2 separate regions of the Homo sapiens genome follow, and region 2 is linked to region 1. Evidence: promoter capture Hi-C in human tissues and cell types (Jung and others, 2019). All regions are on one chromosome and are shown on one strand. Each heading gives the region's core, a stretch centred on a gene start or on the middle of the fragment in contact. The rest is flanking DNA. Distances are from core to core; before and after follow the strand shown. Region 1 holds the start of CLTA (clathrin light chain A). Region 2 overlaps SHB (SH2 domain containing adaptor protein B).

Region 1 (2,700 bases), core at 201-2,700:
AGTCCCTGCCCCTCTTTTCCTCATGAGACTATGTCAAGGCTAATGTGAAAATACTTCATGCACTGTTGCCAATGTATGTTAGGGATGAGCATAAAACAACAGACAAGGGGAAACAGAATCAATTGCAGACCCTAACATTTTAACTTTCTTAAATGTTTTTCTTCAACACTTTCCTATGGTTCATACTTTAAATGACTTTAAAATTATGCTTTAAGTAAATATATGCTTTAAATAATTTTTATTTGCTTCATTTTTCCTTCATAGCTATCCCTTTTTTTTTGTCATCAAAGATATGTGCGTTTTTTATAAAAACACTTTCTTGTCCCCTGCTGACTACCTCTGGAAGCTTCTTGTTGACCTCTGGTTTTTTGGTTTCTTTTTTTGGCTTTTCATTTCTTAGGGTGGTGGTGGTGGTAGTGAAGGAGAGGGGTCTTCTGGTGGCCCCTGCATAAGCACTCCCCCTCAACATGAGCATGATTAACTGGAACCACTGTTATTTCTGTGGTGTAGACAAAATGAGCCATGTAGCTATTAACATCTCCCTGATTTAAAAAGAAACACGGAACTTTCTTTTTCCTGCTGTCCTTAGGGAGGAAAGGTGTAAATATAAGAGACTGTAGCTAGTATCTTGGAAGTCCCCAGGAGACAGGCGTTTCCTCTTGGTCACTGACTCTCTGGGTCACTGACGCTCCTTGAACAGCAGGGCCACCGTGTCTCCCTTTGAAGCAAGTGATCCTTAAGGAATTTTCCAGGTTTAGTAACTTCTGTCTAGCTCCGAAAAGACGTAATGGCTGCAAAAGTGCTTCGTTGAAGAAGATAAGATATATTCATTTTTAAATAAAAATACTTATGGGCGAGAAAAATCGGAGTGGACTGAATCAATTACAGTAAATCTATGGGCTCTAAGGGAGCAAATAATCCAGGCTGGCTGAAAGAATTAAATATTTTAAATTTATAAAGCCAGGGACCCTCAAATCCATAAAAGGATTCAATCTTCTTCTTCTTTTTTTTTAGGATTCAATCTTCTAATAATCCCGGGAGGGGGCGCAAGAGCAGGATTCTTGTTTCTATTTTACGAATGAGGAAACTGAGGTTCAGAAAGCCTAAGTGGCATGCCTCTTCAGTAATCGGCCAATCGTCGCTGCCCTAACTTCACCTCACCTCCCAGTGCAGCACTAGAGTCCCCTCAGGGGTGGCCGTCCCTGGTCAGTCCAGCTCCAGCAGACGGGGTGGGTAGGACGCTCCCTATCAGGCAGCACTTCCGCCTCCCGGGGCCCGCGCAGCTCACCTCCCTCACCTCCCGCCCTACCCCAGTCACGAGTTGTTTTAGGGGGACCGCCCCTCCACTTGCTGATTGGGTAGCTCCTGAACCATTGTTGTCCTCTGATTGGTTGTTCCCTTTTCGGCTCTGCAACACCGCCTAGACCGACCGGATACACGGGTAGGGCTTCCGCTTTACCCGTCTCCCTCCTGGCGCTTGTCCTCCTCTCCCAGTCGGCACCACAGCGGTGGCTGCCGGGCGTGGTGTCGGTGGGTCGGTTGGTTTTTGTCTCACCGTTGGTGTCCGTGCCGTTCAGTTGCCCGCCATGGCTGAGCTGGATCCGTTCGGCGCCCCTGCCGGCGCCCCTGGCGGTCCCGCGCTGGGGAACGGAGTGGCCGGCGCCGGCGAAGAAGACCCGGCTGCGGCCTTCTTGGCGCAGCAAGAGAGCGAGATTGCGGGCATCGAGAACGACGAGGCCTTCGCCATCCTGGACGGCGGCGCCCCCGGGCCCCAGCCGCACGGCGAGCCGCCGGGGGGTCCGGGTGAGAGTGCGGGCGCGTTTGGGGCGAGAGGACTTGTCTGGAAACTCGGTCCACAGTGGGTCCGAGAGCTTCTGTGTGACTCGTGCTCCTTGCTGAATTAGGAGGTTAGGGAGCAGTGCAAACAGGAAACGAGACCCTGGCCCGGTCTTTCAGAAACCTAGGCTCGAGAAGCCTGTTCGGTTCTCAGCATGTTTGAGTGCTTCTGGGCGCGGGCGGAGCGAGAAAGCAAGTGTAGGGTGGCAGGCTCCGGAGCCGGAAGAAGCCCGTTCAATTCAGCAACTTTTCATTAAGCATTTGCTGTGCCTTTAGTCCGGTCTCTGAAGCAACCGCATTGGCGCAGTTTTTCCAGACTTATAAGCTTATAAGTCTGAGCCGAGCACAGAACTCGTTATTAGAAAAGGAGGGCGGAAAAAAATAAGAATGGAAATATCGTTTTTGAGAGATACAAACAAAAGTAGCAATGCAGTTCAGCATTTAAGCACTTAAGGTGTACAGAGTGTTGGATTACGAGGAGGAAGGAGGGAGTAGGGAACTCGAAAGATGATCTAGGTCTGGAGAAAGAACTGCCAAGCGCGGTAGGAGTTTGCTATCGTTGAGCGATTGATTTACAGCTAGGACTTCTGGAGCTCTTCCTCTGGGAACAGCTTTGGTAGGCAATATTGCCTAAGCAGAACCCAAGATTAGCCTAAACCAATCAGGGAGGGATGAAGAGGTGAATAGAGAATGTTCTCAGCCAAACTCAAGTAAAAATGGGGCAGGTAGGATGGCAGTTTGACCTTTGGATGCCTTAACCTGTGTGTGATGCTTAGGATCATGAGTGGAAAAGACCTACTTAATAATACAAAGAAGTAGGAAATTTAGCTAGAAGAAATGAAATACGGCTTTTCATTCACTTAA
Region 2 (2,700 bases), core at 198-2,697, 1.9 Mb after region 1:
GAATGCACTCCTCCCCATGAGCCTCTGTTTCTCCATCTGCAAAGGGGAGATTACAGCCCATTCCTCGCAGAGTGGCTCTGAGAAGCAAACAAATTACCGGTGTGAAAGTGCCCTTTAAGCTGTGGAATACTTACATAAATGTTGGAATCAGTCACTTCTACCATGCCAACAGAGGGGACATTTTACAAAGAGTAAGTCTAGCCACAAATAAGGCAGAGATGATAAAGCAAATTCAGGCATGGGATTGTGCAGCTTGAGGTAGTATGGCACAGTGGTTACAAACAGATGCTAGATCTGGCTTCACATCTCATCTCTGCCACTTACTGGCTGTCTGACTTTATTATTATTATTATTATTTTTTGAGATAGTGTCTCGCTTTGGTGCCCAGGCTGGAGTGCAGTGGCCTGATCTCGGCTCACTACAACCTCTGCCTCCCGGGTTCAAGCAATTCTCCCACCTCAGCCTCCCAAGTAGCTGGGATTACAGACATGTGCCAACACGCCGAGCTAATTTTTGTATTTTTAATAGAGACAGTGTTTCACCATGTTGGCCAGGCTGGTCTCCAACTCCCGACCTTAGGTGATCCACCTTGGCCTCCCAATGTGCTGGGATTACAGGAAGTGCTGGGATTACAGGCATGAACCACCGACCTGACTTTAGACAAGTGACTTAACCTGTCTGTGCCTTGGTTTCCTCATATGTAAAAATGAAAATAGAAGTAGCAGTAGTAGTAGCTACCTCAAAGGACTGTAGTGAGGAGTAAAGTTACATACAAAGCACACAGAACTGCACCTAGCTCAGAGTATGTATAATAAAAGTATTAGCTAATATTACTGTAGTGGAAAACTCCCTTAATTCAAGTGATTGTACCTTTTTTACTCAAATACCTCCTCCTCACCCTGCATCTCCTGTGGCTCCATGAAATCAAGGCCCTGCCCAGAACAGTCTCTGTGCCAAGACAGCTTTTAGCTCACCCACACCACTTTATTTACAGATAAATTCTGACATACAGATGTGGGTTTCAACCTTGGTTCCTGTGTCCTCAACCAAAAGATAAGCTTTTCAGGGGCGGGCACTATCCAGGCCCTGGTTCATCCCTGTATCCACACAGCTCCTGATGGTGGCCTGCATATAGCAATTGCTCAGTCAGCACAGGCCAAATGAAAGCTAGGAAGTCAGAGACGACCACCACCTTTGTCCTGCGGAAAATGCACAACCTTCTGGGCACAGTGGCTCACACCTGTAATCCCAGCACTTTGGGAGGCCAAGGCAGACGGATCACTTGAGCCCAGGAGTTTGAGATCAGCCTGGGCAATAAAAAAATACAAACATTAGTTGGGTGTGCTGGCGTGTGACTATAGTCCCAGCTACTTGAGAGGCTGAGGTGGGAGAATCGCCTGAGCCTGGGAAGTTGAGGCTGCAGTGAGCTGTAATCGTGCCACTCACTCCAGTATGGGGGACAGGAGTGAGATCCTGTCTCAAAAAAAAAAAAAAAAAGAAATAGAAAATACATCACCCCTACCACCACCATCAACCAACCTCACAAAGCCACAGGGTGTGTTGCCGTCAGCCAGCCAGCATGCGAGCTCTGTTGGAAAGTCACACGTCCCAGTTTATTTTCTAGGGCCAAGCCTGGCCTACCCATTCCCCACAGGCCACCACTTCTGGGCTCTCCCAGCACAAGCTAAGCTAATCAGGGGAAGGCTTGACCACAGGCAAGTTAGACCTTGCTGACTGATCAGAAGAAACCACAGCTGTTTCAGATTTGACTTTTAAAGCTAATTTTTATGGGTCAGAAATGCTCTGGGGGCAAAGAGAGGATAGGGTCAAGTCATGGGGGTTAAGCCCTGGGGTAATCAGTCATGTTCTGAGATTGTCAGATTAGAGAGGACAGTCACCTGATCTCCTTCAAGGAAACTTAAGTTCCTTGTTGATCAGGGCCAATGTACCGCCAGTCTCTTCCTCCAAACAGAGCACACACAGCCCGGCAAATCCTTGAAGGGAAGGAATGCTTGGTGTTAGAATGAGAAGACATGACAGTTACAAGACTCACGTTTTGTGCAGCTGTCCCTTGGGATGTGCCAACTCTGTGCTCAGAATTTCTCTATAAAATAACTCAAGTGCTGCATTAACATCTCATTTCTGGAACTCTGAGGCAGATGGGAGACAGAGAAACAGAAAAGCCAGCTCTAGGGCCTCTTCTAGGGACACCAAAGCAAAGGCTGAAAGCGGAGAAATTACAGCAGAGGGATGCAAGAAGAGTAGCATTAAGTAAAGGGGAGGAGGAGACATGTAACATATATTCCAGTAAATATCCAAGCCTCATACTACTTATTTCCATTGAAACCACGGAAAATAGAGGAAGCATATAGGTTTTGAACTCAAGACTGCACTGGTGTGATCCTTGCTCTATCACTTTGCAGCTGTGTGACATTAGGCAAGTCATCAACCTCTCTAAGCCTCAGTTTCTTTATCCGGAATATGGGGATAAGGTAGATGATGGCATCGAAGGCCCTAATTAATGGCTTGCCTGTATCCCTGCCCTTTGCCATGGGACACTGCAGCTCCTCCTCTCTCCTTGAATTGTGGCTGGCCTTATGATTTGCTTTAGTCAACAGAATGCAGCAGAAGGGTCACCATGCCAGTTTCCAACCTCAAGAGACCTTATGCGCTCCTGCTTTTTCTTGGAACCCTGCTGCC

The links. The method cuts DNA at HindIII sites, captures the fragments that hold promoters and counts their contacts. A contact is called where the count stands out against the background at its distance.
Region 2: a fragment that was not itself captured here is called in contact with the fragment with the promoter of CLTA in region 1 in 1 of the 25 tissues and cell types used here (hippocampus).

The regions. Positions count from the first base shown.
Region 1 is chr9:36,189,471-36,192,170 of GRCh38, forward strand. CLTA (clathrin light chain A) reads left to right here and starts at 1,451. Exons shown (of 5, transcript NM_001833.4): 1 at 1,451-1,803. The coding sequence starts at 1,587. RefSeq lists enhancers at 1,086-1,711, 1,427-1,646. The HindIII fragment of the contact is 4,306 bases long and covers 1-2,700 here.
Region 2 is chr9:38,059,832-38,062,531 of GRCh38, forward strand. The region is part of intron 1 of SHB (SH2 domain containing adaptor protein B); the gene reads right to left. Among named protein-coding and RNA genes, the nearest start is that of SHB, 8.0 kb to the right of the region's middle. RefSeq lists an enhancer at 1-262. The HindIII fragment of the contact is 7,557 bases long and covers 1-2,700 here.